3 separate regions of the Homo sapiens genome follow, and regions 1 and 3 are each linked to region 2. The links are contacts of gene promoters, found by promoter capture Hi-C in human tissues and cell types (Jung and others, 2019). All regions are on one chromosome and are shown on one strand. Each heading gives the region's core, a stretch centred on a gene start or on the middle of the fragment in contact. The rest is flanking DNA. Distances are from core to core; before and after follow the strand shown. Region 1 has its middle 7.7 kb from the start of MIR9903. Region 2 holds the start of NIPAL2 (NIPA like domain containing 2). Region 3 has its middle 34 kb from the start of MIR9903.

Region 1 (5,066 bases), core at 340-2,839, 110 kb after region 2:
CCGTGAGTTCATCAACAGGTAACAAAATATTTTGCATGATTTGGCCTTGACTGAAAGGAAACTGTGAAATCTTCAAGGTGCTCTCTGTCCCTAGTGTGGACTCTCCAAAGAGGTCCTGGTCCCCAGCATGGCTACAGACGTTCACTGCATGTAATCCAGACCTCGTCTAATGCTATAAGCAAATAAACTGAATATTCAAAGAGAACAAATCACCAGTCCATCAAAATCCTTGGGGTAAATTAGTTCAGCAGACTGGACTAGAGACATACTCCGTGACTCACCCCCACCCAGAGTAAATAAGGGAAGATTAAGCAAAACTTGATTGAATCATGCTGAAGTTTGGCATAACTCAACAAACAGATCAGCCTGAAATCTCACATTAGGAACACATAATCTCATAAAATTTATGACTGTTATTGCTCACCACATATGTTTCTGGGTTACTGTGTGCCGGGCTACAAGCGAGCTTCATTGCTGGGGTCTTGAGGGGGCTGCCTGCTGATCCATAACGTATTTCAAGAAAGAAGACACATTCCCGGTTGACGCTCTTTGGCATGAGTTTCCACGTGGCCTGGCCACGGCAGGGAAGGAGACTGGAGGGGAGATATTGACAGTGGGAAGGGGGTTTTGTGCCATGCCCCAAGCGGGCCCCTTGGCAAAGTCTTGTTGAGATGCTGAAGGGAAGACTGGCAAACAAAGCTTTTCTATCTCTCTTAGCCTCAGTTTCCTTATTTGCAAAATAAGAGGTAAAATTAGACGATCTCTGAGGTCTTTTCAAGAAGATCAAAGGGGTGATTCATCTAAAGATAATTCACCTAAAGAGAATGAATTGCCGATCTACTGCCCTCCATCTCCAAAAGGAAGCCAGAGCAAGAACTGGCCACTATGTCACCAACTGAGAGCAGTAGAGAATGGGGTGTGGCTTACAGGAGGCCATGGAATGCCAGCCCTGAGATCTGGGAGGAAAGGAGAGATGACCACGTGCTTCGGGAGGGTCACCCTCTATTGCTGCCCAGAAATAAAACAGAGTTCAGAAGTGTTTGCAAACTTGTATCACCACTCCACCTTCCACTGCCCATTGATCGAGGCCCTTTTCCCCTCTGATCCCAAATGCAACCTCATGATCCTTCTTGATAGAAGCTGCTACCCACGCATCAGATCCCGGTGGTGAGCAAGAGCTGCTTTCCAACCCAAATGACACTCAGGCTCCCTCCAGACCCATGCTCAGGGATTCCAGGTCTGACTGTAGAGATGCAAGAATGCAGAGTCAGAGTCAGTGACAAGCCAGAGCCCCCAGAGGGGGAGCCAGTTCCTTGAAGTGAAGGGCCATCGTTTGCAGGAGATGGTTACTGAAGTCCAAGTCCAGGGATTCCATAATGAAAGGAAGAGCAAGCCCGTGAGCCCTGGACTCATTTATTGAAGCCCAGAGCAAGGCAACAGATTCCCAGGCCCCAAGGCTGTGCCCCCAGGTGTCACCACGAGGGAACACACATGTAGCAAAGGCAGGTGACATGTAGACACAGCAGGCGCCTGCCGTACTGAGGTTTGTCCCTCCCTGCACCCATCCCGGGCTCTGTCCTGAACGTCTCAGCTCAGCAATCTCTCTCACGCAGATCCCTGCCTTCCCTGCCAACAGCCAAGGTCTGACCCTTCTGACCCTCGGGCCCTCTTCCAGGCTTCTCCTGTTCCATTTCCAGCACTGCTGGCTCCATCCAGAAAGTTTTGAACAAAAGAGTAACATTTTTCTTTCTGGCTTGTTCACTTTCATGATGATTTTCACAGCCAATTCCAGTAAATCTGCTACAATAAAAGTCCCTATTCTTCATCCATGTTCTTCTAAATAATCTTAGATTTGATTTGAAGTCTATTTCAGTTAATATTTTGTCTTTTTTAAAAAAAAAATAGTTTTGTTGTTTTTTCCTGATTGTAACTCAGATATCAGCTGGGGACTGCCCTGCCCCTCAACATCTGTGAAATGTCCTGTGGCAGACTGTATTTTCCAAATAAGGCCACAACATTATTTTCAATCCCATATGTTCATTCCAGAACTTTGCAATTCCTCCATCGAGAGATGGCGGCTGTGTCATCTCTCCTTGAATCTGGGTGGGCCTTTTGACTGCTCCAACTGATGGAGTGCATATAATTGACTGTGCAACTTCCAAAAAGCAAGTTAGGAAGGCCACACAGCTTCCACCTGGCTCTCTCTCTCGGGACACATGCCTTAGGAGCCATGGACAGCCACGTAAGAAGTCCAGCCCCCTGAAGATGCCCGGCTGCCAGCACCATGCAGAGACCACATAGAGATGGAGAGAAATCGCAAGAAGCCCCAGGTGCTCCAGCTCCAGCTGCCTGAGGCTTTCCAGCCCAGACACCAGACATGTGGATGGGGAAGGCTTTGCTGGGACTCCAGCTGCAACTGCAGGAGAGACCCCATGCAAGAGCCACCCAGCGGAGCCCAGCCAACCCCCAGAACCTGGAAAGATATAATAAATGATTATTGTTGTTTGATGCCAATAAGTTTGAAGTGTTTTTTTAATGTAGCAATGGATAACAGAGACAATTTGGCTCAAGCTCAAGCAATTCTGTGTCCTGTGGAACTCACAAGGCTTTCCAAGGCTTCTGCTGATTCCTGGAAAAACAGAATGGATTGTTCATTTGTGGGTTGTATGTGTTCAGATGCTGCCTCTGTCTGACCCCACACAACATGTGAAATGTGGCTCCAATTTCATATCCCACAACAACAATCACTCACACCAAGCATCTGAGTGGGTAGTAGACCACGTGGGAGATTTAAGATTATGTTGCCGACCACATGGGATTTTGTCAACTTGCTCCCTTTTCTCCCCTACCTCTTCCCAGTCTCATCTCCTCTCAGGTTGCTCTGGGAACCCACATTCTTCTCTCCCTGCTATGAAGAGTAATTCAGGTTCCCTCAAGTGCCTAATCCCAAACTTCCAAACTTAAGCATATCAAGAATCCAGCCTTTACTGGAGCTAATTGAGGTTACAGACGAGCAATTATTCTTGTGCGCATGCATTGTAAAAAAAATTCAAGGAACACCCAGAAAAATAAAAGAAGAAAGTAAAAATTACCCCCAAATCCCACTACACGGTGATAACCACTATTAATGTTTGGTAAACATCCTATCTATATACAATTTTATATACATAAGATTATACTATCCTTGCTGTTCTATACTTCCCCAGGTATAATTGGTATTAATAATAGCTTTACCATTTATTTAGCACTTACTAAGTACTTAGCAATTATATAAAGGTAGCATCCTCATCACATCATTATCTTCTTTTTCCTAAGGGATCTTAGGGAGAGTCAGAGCAGGGACCTGAACCCAGACCCACCCAGCCATAAGGCCGGTGCACTTGCCACTAACCCATTCAGCCATAGCAGAATCTTTCCCCAAGATCTGCATACCACTGTGGAGAGACTATCCTGGCCTGCATATCTTGAGCCAGATCTAGCATCCTAACACATTCCTGTGTCCTCTTTCAGAGAGTCCAAGGGATCGGAGCTCCCTGGAGTCTGTGTTTGGCTCATTCCTGGTGAGGCTGAGTTTCTGAAAGGAAGCGAAAGTCTGGGCCCCACAGGAGAAACAGGGAGGGTTCTGTGTCCCCAGTACAGCAGAGCAAAGCCAGATAGGTGCTCTCCTCTGCCTCCGTGTCCCCTCCGGGACGGAGGGGGCCCTGCTGTCCTGGGAGTCTGGGGTGGTCTCCCATGAGTTCAGCCTGAATCATCTGCCTCCTCCTCCCAGGGAGTGTTTGTCCCAACTCCTGAGGGCCTCATCTGTGCAGGGCCAGCCAGGCGAGGAGGACATGCCTTGGGAACAGTCTGTGCTTGTTCCCTCAGCCCTAGAAGAGACTCTGCCAGGTGGTACTTGCCCTTCCCTGGGGAGGAGCCTGCAGTATGTTCTCTGTCAACCTTTACTGATGAGCACATGTTCCAAGCAGAGCCCCAGGGGACTAGCATCTTCTCTGACCCCTTCCAGAGAAACCCTGGGTGAGAGGCTGAGAGAGGAGACCCCACAATGGGGACACCGCAGCCCCAGAAGAGGAGGAGCAGCCTCTGGGGAGGGCCTGACCTTTCCTTTGTTGACTTTCTTGGGCCTTGCACTAATTGTGAAGAAGTAAAAACTGAGTTATCAGTCTCCAGCTGTTCCCACAGCTGCTGACATTTGAGGGAGGCCAAGGGCAGTGGACTCCTCCCCACCACACAACCACACTCGCAGCTGTCCACTTGAAGGTGGGCCTGCCTTGCAGGAGGTCCCCTTTGACTCCAGAGACTCAGACACTCCCAGCTCAGGGTAGGCGTTTAGAAGTTAGGCTGTGAATCCAAAAACCCCAGACTTGAGTTCTGGCTGCCACTTAATTACTTGAACCCAGGATAGTTTGCTTAACTCTTCTGAGCCTGGGCTTCCCCATCATCTTAGTTTTGTCTCCCCCATAGAAGTACCCCCTAAGATGGGTGTTCTGGTGCTGGTGTTTTAATTGGGAGGTGATCCCAGGAAGCCCCAGCAGGGGAGCAGGTAAGGAAGGGAAGTAAGCCAATGAAAGATCATTGTCAAGCCAGTGACAAAACAGAAGTTTAATCCTGCTGGGGAACTCTTAGAGGCAGTGGAAAATACATGTCCTGGAATTATCCCCCATCTCCCTAACCCCAGGGCAAAGGAGCTGGCATATTGATCCACCAATTCCCACCAGTCATTGTTTGAGGGCTGCCCCTGGGGAGGGGGACAGGGATCATATCTGTGTCCCTCTGGCCTGCCCTATGCACAGGTAGAGCAGGCTCCAGCCACAAGAGATAGCCTAAGGCAGAGTCACACACTACTCTTGCACACTACCCTTGTTACAAAGTAGACTGCGTGCTATAGGCAACCAAGGACGTGTCTTCATCCTCCAAACCTCCAGTGCCCTCCAGTGCTCTGGTAAGTGCCAAGGGGATATGGTGGGGCACCCTCAGCCTCTGCTACCACCACCTCTAAAACAAGAGAAATGACACTGGCTGCTTAGGATGGCTGTGGGGATATATGCAGATTTTGTTTTATTTGATTT
Region 2 (3,708 bases), core at 1-2,500:
CTTGAAAACTAATAAAGTGAACATGCTTATTTATCTTACTTATTCTTTATACAAATATATTCTCTTCTGCATTCAGAAATTAATATTTAGAACACTTCAGGCATAAAAGGAATCCAGATCTTTGATAATTGGTTAAACTCTCCGATTTAGGACAACAGCAACAAATATTTTCTGATTATATTGTTGCAAAAATAAAAGTATCCATGGTTTTGTTAAAGAACAAGAACAAAGTAACACATTTAATGAAAACAGGAGGAAGCCTGGAATCCACCGTGATAAAACTTAGTTGCAATATGAACGCTGCTAGAGGAAGGGCTGGCCAGAACACTTCCTCATCTTAAACCAAGCCAAAAATAAATGGGCGGCTCCAAGTCCCTTTGATTTTGTTAAATGTATATTTCCAGTGTAAACTGGCGTTGTTTAAGTTAACAAAGTTTTCCCAAAGGGCCGGTGGGAAAGAATGAGAGTCCTGCAAATGCAACCTGAGAAAATGTGTTCCTCGCACGGAAATGGAAGAGCTGTGTTGAGATACCAGGGACACACGCAGGGCATCTGCGCGAGGTGACATTAGGCTGCCCTTAATGAGTTTTCTGCTTCTGATAACAGGGTGTCACTTTTTTCTTTTCTTTTAACTGTAAAAGGATCCTGGGGTGAAAATGAGTGAATTGCCCCCACACTCCTAGATTCCTTCCGGGAGAAGAGGGCGGACGCAGGCTGGGGAGGCGGGATCGGGACCCGGAGGTCCCAGGAACGGGTGGCTGAGGTCAAGGCCGAAGACCTGGGCGCCCACTCCCAGTGCCGGGTGCCCGGGAGAGGAAGACTGGGCGGACCCCCGCGCTTCCGGATGAGGCGGACTTAGGTCAATGCGGGAAACATTGCATGTCACCTCTTCCCACTCGGAGAGGCCGGGTGTCTTCCTGAGAGCTGGCAGGAAAGCGGCCGAGGCGCAGAGGCGCCCGGAGCCAGCCGCCCTGGCCGCGTCCCCACCGGGCTGCGGTGGCTGCGGGGCGGCCCTTACCTGGTTCCTGCGGTACCAGTCGCCCGAGAGGGAGCCGTTGCCGGCGCCTGGTGCCCCGTACGTGAAATTCAGTGACAGCTCGTCCAGGGCGGCCGAGGCGGAGTCCCCGGGGCCCGCGGGCGCCACCGCTGCCATGAGGTCTCGCTCCCGGCGCTCGGGCTCCGGCTCGGGCTGCGGCCGCCTCCCCGCCCTGTTGCACCGCGAGGAGGCCGCGCCGCAGCCACTTCCTGCTCGGTGCCCGGGCGAGGCGGGCGCGCCGAGGCCACCTGGCTCCCGCCCCCGCGCGGCCGTAGGTGCTCCCAGCCTGGCCGGGCGCTGCCTCCTCTCCTCCTCCGGTGCGAGGTGTCCTCGGGGAGCCCGGCGGTCTGCGGCCTCCCGGGGCCGTCCAGCTCGCACCGCGCCCTCCTTCCGCTGGGCCAGTGTCTGCATCCTCGGGGCCGCACTGCCCAAGGGGGCAATCCCCGCGGCCGTCCGCAACGGGTCCCCGCGCCTGTCGGGGCCAGAATCAGATCATCTCCGTTGTAAACATTTGTCCAAGTCAATGGAAGAGGAGGAGACACTGACTAACCCAAAGCAGCTATCATCTCCCATCTCTACCTGGCAATTCCAGTCCTCTATCACATATGTAGTGTTTCTCACCGATATTTTAAAAATTGATTGCATATGAAAAAGTCATGAGTTCCCAGAAATATTGTAAGCAATATGAGAAAAAAAGATCCGAGCGATTGAATCTCAGTGCCAGTGCTTGATAGATCCTTAGTAAATATTCCTTGAATGAGGAATGTGGTAGCCATAGGACCCCAGTGTGCGATGACTGGATTGGGTTTGCTTCAGATGGGATCAGGTGGAGTTGCTGAAAAGTTGCCAGCTACTGTATATATGAATTTAGGATGAAAGATAAATGTTGTTATTAATCTTAAGAACTCTAACGAGATGTTCTGGTTTTACCTGTATTCAAATTCTAATGTGTGACCACAAATGATCTGTAGGGTATTTCTCACTTTAAAAAAACCATGATTCTATACTGTTGCCTGAAGGCTGATAGTTGCCTTCTTTTGTTTACACAATGCTGAGGTTTTTCTTAGATAATGTGCTTTGACTTCCATGAGTTCATGAAAGAGAGACCTTCAAGAAAAGAGAATTGCTGCCTAGAAGGGAGCAGGGACAGTTTTCAGTGTTTCTTAGGGGAAATGTGCAAATGAGAGAAAAGAGTGAGAAAAAGTCATTTCACATACAGAAAAAACAAGACATGTCGTCTCAGAAATTGTGTAGTTTCTTGCTTAAGCACTCGAGATGTTCAGTGAACAGCTAACAATTGTAGGTAACTATTCCCAATTTTAAGAGGCTGATTTACTTCAAATAAATATCTGAAGGAAAAAGGTCTCTATTTGTTATATTACATTTTATTTTATTTTTTGAGACAGGGTCTTGCTCTGTTGCCCAGGCTGGAGTGCAGTGGTGTGATCTTGACTCACTTTAGCCTCATATTCCTGGGCCCAAGTGATCCTCCCACCTGGGACTACATACAGGTGCATGCCACCATGCCCAGCTAATTTTTTTTTTTTTTAGATAGAGTCTCTCTCTCTTGCCCAGGCTGCAGTGCAGTGGCACAATCTCAGCTCACTGCAACCTCTGCCTCCTGGGTTCAAACAATGCTCCTGCCTCAGCCTCCTGAGTAGCTGGGACTACACGTGCACACCACCAAGCCCGGCTAATTTTTGTATTTTTAGTAGAGACAGGGTTTCACGGTGTTGGTCAGGCTGGCCTCAAGCTCCTAACCTCCAGTGATCCCCCTGTCTTGGCCTCCCAAAGTGCTGGGATTACAGGTGTGAGCCACCACACCTGGCCCTGGCTAATATTTTTCTATTTTTTTGTAGGGACAGGGTCTCGCAATTTTTCCTAGGCTGGTCTAGAACTCCTGGCCTCAAACAGTTGTCCCACCTCGGCCTCCCAAAGTGGTGGGATTACAGGTGTGAGCTGCCATGCCTTGTCTGATAAGTTTTCTATAACATCACATTCATTGATATTGGTGACTTCATTAATGCTTCTTTCTCTTCACATGCTTTAGGGTGCAAGTAACAGAGTATCCAAATAAAAGTGGCTTAAACAATAATTATCTGCTATCTCCAGAGGAATGTGTCTCTATGTGGTTCTATTATGTCGTCACTTCCACCTTTCTGCTCTGCTATCCCTGAGGTACTGGTCTTGTCCATTGAGGGAGGAAAGCCTTTTCCAGAATCCTCCTGGCATCCTTTCACCTCAGATCCCATTGGCTGGGACTGGGTCACATGCCCATGTTCTACCAGCAAGGGAGGCTGGGAAAGTGATTCTTGGGTATTTCCAACCTAGTGAGAGGTAAGCTCTACCAACCAGGATGAGTGGGAATGCCATGGGGTTATGGGGGAGGGGAACCAGTCAACCCTGGTACAACCACTCTAGTATTTTTCTATCAGCCAGATTGTAAGTAGTTGTACAGTTGCTAACAAGCAAAATACTAAATGGATTGTGTTACTTTCTGGTTTAAAATGCCTTGAAGCCTCCCTATTGCCATAATGAAGTCCACACTTTTTTTTTTTTTGAGACAGAGTCTTGCTCTGTCACCCAGGCTGGAGTGCAGTGGCACAATCTCGGCTCACTGCAAGCTCCGCCTCCCGAGTTCACGCCATTCTCCTGCCTCAGCCTCCTGAGTA
Region 3 (4,592 bases), core at 924-3,423, 66 kb after region 2:
CTACTGTGGCCTTTCCCCAGGACCCATGCCCAGGGTCCTCTTCCTGAACTCCAGCATCAACAGACCCCCTTCAATAAACTCCAACATTCAGAACATCAACAAGCGAGGGGATGGGGAAGGGCAGTGATTATTCCAAGGGCAGAGATGCTATCAGGTTTTGCTCCAAAAAGGATTTTTCGCCTCACACAAGAATTTGCTACGGATTTCCTTTTAAAAGTGCACACCCCAAGAACACTCAGCAGCTGATTCAGCTTAATGTGCAAATCCCCAGGAACACAATGCGTGAAGTGAGGTACACGGGCAATTGGGGCCAAGGTGCAGCAGAACTTCCCACCAGCAGGGGGAGCTCTTCCCCGGGTCAGGCAGCCATGGCAGGTCCAATCACACGCCCGTTACCCAATAAAAACATGCTGCAGTTTCAAGAGGGAGGAACAGAACTGAACCCTGCTGTCCAAAAAAAGACACCACAGATGCCCAGTAGGCTTGTGCTTTATCCTGAGGGCAATGGGGAGCCACGGAGGATTCTGAGATGTGTAGGGTTCTATCAGGGCTTCCAGTCGTTCTTGCCCAGTGCCTGTGACTTCTTTGAGGAATCTATTTCCAGGGATGGTGTTCCCTGCATTTTCGGCTCTTCTTTTAAAATGCATTACAGTGATGATCCATGAGCCACCTTCCAGGGACCCAGGGCAGGCTCAAGCTTAGGGGTGTTTCTCAAGAAGTGCATAGCTTCGTGTGTTGACTCAGAGGAAAGGTAGGCATGGTTTAGGGGAATGAGGGGGGAGTGACAGGCAGAAATGCTATTGTTTTTTGCTGCAGTGAAGCGCCAAGCCTTCAAACAAGAAGCTTGGCACCAAAAATGGTGCTGTTAGAAAGTTAATGGGCAAGACATTTTGAGAAAGTGTTGTGGAGATAAGCATCAAGAGGAAACGTCACTGTTTTAACTTTGCCGGCATCCAGGAAACCAAGAAAAGCAGAGCCACCCCTGAGCTGGACTGCAGCGCACACACGCACATGCTCATGGAATCCAAGCCCTGTCCAGAGACAAACATCTCCCAGAAGCAAATCAAGAGTGACTTTTCCGAAGAAAGAGCTGGGGAAATGGTATTTCCTTCCTGTGCTGAAGAACAGAGTTACGACATTCTAGGGAAGAGATGTGAGCTCCCAGGGGCAAGAACTGGGCACCATCCCGCTATTCCTGCTGAATATTAATAGCAAAAGCAAATATCTTGACTTCAGAGAGCTCCAAAAGACAGAGTCACCCAAGAGGAAGTGATGAAAAGGAGAAATGAGTGCCGGGCGCGGTGGCTCACGCCTGTAATCCCAACATTTTCGGAGGCCGAGGCGGGCGGATCACCTGAGGTCAAGAGTTTGAGACCAGCCTGACTAACATGGTGAAACCCATCTCAACTAAAAAAAAAAAAAAAAAAAAAAAAAAAAATTAGCCTGGTGTACTGGTGGGCGCCTGTAATCTCAGCTACTTGGGAGGCTGAGGCGGGAGAATCACTTGAACCGGGGAGGCGGAGGTTGCAGTGAGCTGAGATCAAGCCATTGCACTCCAACCTGGGCAACAGAGCCAGACTCTGGCTCAAAAAAAAAAAAAAGAAAGAAAGAAAGAAAAGGATAAATGAGTGTTTTCTTGAATGCTTTCTACCAGAATCAGGCCACTGTGATCTCCCTCACTGCAATAGTCTCCTAATGGGTTTGCCTACCTCTGATCTTGACTTCCTTCTCCCATTCAGCCTCCATAGAGCAGCCAGGAGGATCTTTCTAATCTGATCTGCTTAGAATCTTTCAGTGGCTCGCATACCCCAAATCTTTGATATAAGTCATGAGGCCCTCCAGACTCTCATCTCTGGGGAAATCTCAGAGGCTCATCTCTTGCCACTTCTTGGTCTTGCCCTTTCTGCTCTAATCATTCTGAAACCCTGTAGCTCCCTGAATGTGCCATGTTTCCAGTGGCATGGGAAGGGTAAACAGTCCTGGGGACCTTGTAGCTCCCTGAATGTGCCATGTTTTCAGGGGCATGGGAAGGGTAAACAGTGCTGGGGACGTTGTAATGTACCTTGTGTCCTTTCTCTTTATCTTGGCTGGAAGTTGCCAAGACTCTCATCTTTGAGGGCCCACCATAAACTGGGACATATGGTCTCTTCTGTCCCCTCTTTGCTGTATCCCTGTATGGTTTTTACTTACCTTCGGGGTCTTTGCAAATACCTGGGGGTTCCCCTTTCATCCTTTTCTCCCCATTTTGTCCTTCAAATCTTGAATTAGAAATTATTACATTAGAAAAGCCTATTCTGACTCCCCAAAACTGGGAGGGACACCTGGTATCTCTCTCCCACGTTGCCCTGTGCTTATCTCTCTTGCACCATTTGCACACTGTGTGTAACTCCCTGCAGACCTGCCCATCCCATCCACCCTGTAAACTTGCGCTCCACAAAGGTGGGACCTTCTTCCCTCTGTGTCTCCATGCCTAGTCCAGTGCCTGTCATACTGTGGGAGCTCAGTAATATTTCCTGAATGATCATATTCCTTTCTCCAAGGCTACGAAGACAACCATGTCTTTTTGAGCCAATTTCTTTCTTTTTTTTTTTTTCATTAATTTCCCCAAGCCCCCAACAAACAGTAAGATCTATTTTTAATGATGCCACAAGCTGGCCTGTAAATGATGCATTCATTGTCAGATACATTTGGCCGTTGTTTGTACTTGCAAGGAATATTCCTCCTTCCTTGAGAGCTCTCACTCACAGACACTTTCATTACTTTAATATTTTACGATGCAGCCATTTTGGAAGACATAAGGGCATCATCTCTGTTTAACTAAATGTCAAAGTAAAGTAGTCAAGGCTAGTGGCTCTCTTGGCATGCCAGTGATTAGATAGCTTTGTTAACAGGCCAGTTGGGCTGAGGCTATGTGATTACACGCTCTCAGCTACTTCTATGCAAAATGATCCATAAACAAATAAAGATCATGGATTGCAAAAACATTTTCCAGGGGTGTCAGAGTGTCCCTAAACGTTCAGTTCACTCTCTTCAACCTTCCACATCTATAGCACCCAAGCTCCACAGGACACAAAATCACAAGGTCAAAATTGGATTTTGTCAGTCTGATAATCTGCTATTTTCACACTCCTGTAGACCCAAAACCCTGCAGAATGTATAAACTAAGGTATTAGATTACACTGAGTACCCCCCTTCCCAACCAGACTGGACAAGAGAGAACTTACACCTGACTTTAATGAGTGCTCAGAAGTGGCCAGCGCCCTTGGAGGCTGAAGAGCTTCATGCTGGGAGTTTAAGGCCCACACACTCTGCAGACCAGGCCTTGCCTCCTGCCCACGGTGCCAGAGGTGGTAGCTGCAGAAAAAAAAATGCAGTGCTTCTTTTTAAAACAAGGCATGACCCCCATATATATATATTATGGTGTGGTTAAGGGCATAGGCTCTGGTGCTGGGCTGATGGTTTGTAGTTTGTTCTGGCACTTGATAGTTTTGTAAACCTGTGGGTTATTTAACCTCTCTGTGCCTCAGTTTCCTCATCTGTGGCATGCAGGTAATAATAATTTCATGGTTGTTGAGAGGGTTAATGAAGTACTCAGAATAGTGCCTGACACCTCTGAGCATTACAATAAATTGAGCTATATTTATGATCTTAACAAAAAGGATGGTCAGGCTTTAACATCTGTTTGGGTTGCCTTGAAGTCATGAGTTCAAAATGCCTGCCTCCAGTCCCCTCTCTGTGTTAACAACGACAAAGCAGCGTACCTTGTATAAATGGCATATATTTCATTGGGACACTGGATGTTTTCACCCCAGGCACACCAGCTTCTAGAAAGGACCTAGGAACAAGGTGGTTTTGCTGGTCTGATGAGGTTGGAGAGAGCTGCAGGGACAGGCCTTCAACATGTGGCCTTGTGGCTTCAGAACAAGGGAGCCACAAGGGGGTTCTGTAGCTTCTTGGCTCAGGGCACCTAGCATTTTGAACTCAAGCCAGTCCCAAGGGTTTGGTGATCTCAGCTGAGTCCTCACTGCCAGCCTGAATCCTCTGTCAACTGGAACTGGCTTTGCAGATGCTGCACAAGCTCCTGGCAGACTCCATTTGGTTGGATTCCAGGTGGCAAATGTCCCTCTGGGGAGGATTGTGCAAAAGTGTTCCTTCCTCCCAGAAGGAAGGTCGGTTAACCAACAAAGAAGTCTACCTAGAAGAGAGCAAAGGAGGGTGGAAGAGCGGAAGTTAGGCTCATTTTAATAGTCAAGAGATCCCTTTGAGAGAATGTAGAGACGAGCTTGGGTGAAGCTTGCTCAGTGGGGAGAAGGGAAATGCCCGGTTTGGATCTTTACTGGAGCAAGCACTGACAGCACTTATTGATGGCTTGGATGTGAGGGGTAAGAGAGAGTGGGCTCAAGAATGGCTGCAACACTTTTTTTTGAGACACTGGGTGCTGGCGTGCCACTGTCTGCACACTCCCTTTACAGGTTGAGCTGGGGGGCTGTGACCGCTCTGCTGGTCCTGCTTCTATTATTCTATTGGTCAAAGCTACCCTCCCCAAGGTCAAGACAAATCCACTGCGCTTTAGAAGATCCAGGGTGATGGGC

Evidence for each region. The method cuts DNA at HindIII sites, captures the fragments that hold promoters and counts their contacts. A contact is called where the count stands out against the background at its distance.
Region 1: a fragment that was not itself captured here is called in contact with the fragment with the promoter of NIPAL2 in region 2 in 3 of the 25 tissues and cell types used here (IMR-90 fibroblasts, adrenal gland and lymphoblastoid cells).
Region 3: a contact is called between a fragment that was not itself captured here and the fragment with the promoter of NIPAL2 in region 2, in 4 of the 25 tissues and cell types used here (IMR-90 fibroblasts, heart left ventricle, lymphoblastoid cells and 1 more).

The regions. Positions count from the first base shown.
Region 1 is chr8:98,398,885-98,403,950 of GRCh38, forward strand. It overlaps a transcript of STK3 not described here. Among named protein-coding and RNA genes, the nearest start is that of MIR9903, 7.7 kb to the left of the region's middle. The HindIII fragment of the contact is 6,459 bases long and covers 1-4,819 here.
Region 2 is chr8:98,292,985-98,296,692 of GRCh38, forward strand. NIPAL2 (NIPA like domain containing 2) reads right to left here and starts at 1,251. Exons shown (of 11, transcript NM_001321635.2): 1 at 1,019-1,251. The coding sequence starts at 1,153. All of the region lies in intron 5 of LOC105375659 (a long non-coding RNA gene), which reads left to right. RefSeq lists a silencer at 771-1,490. The HindIII fragment of the contact is 9,267 bases long and covers 1-3,708 here.
Region 3 is chr8:98,357,936-98,362,527 of GRCh38, forward strand. It overlaps a transcript of STK3 not described here. Among named protein-coding and RNA genes, the nearest start is that of MIR9903, 34 kb to the right of the region's middle. RefSeq lists a silencer at 946-1,240. The HindIII fragment of the contact is 4,979 bases long and covers 1-4,592 here.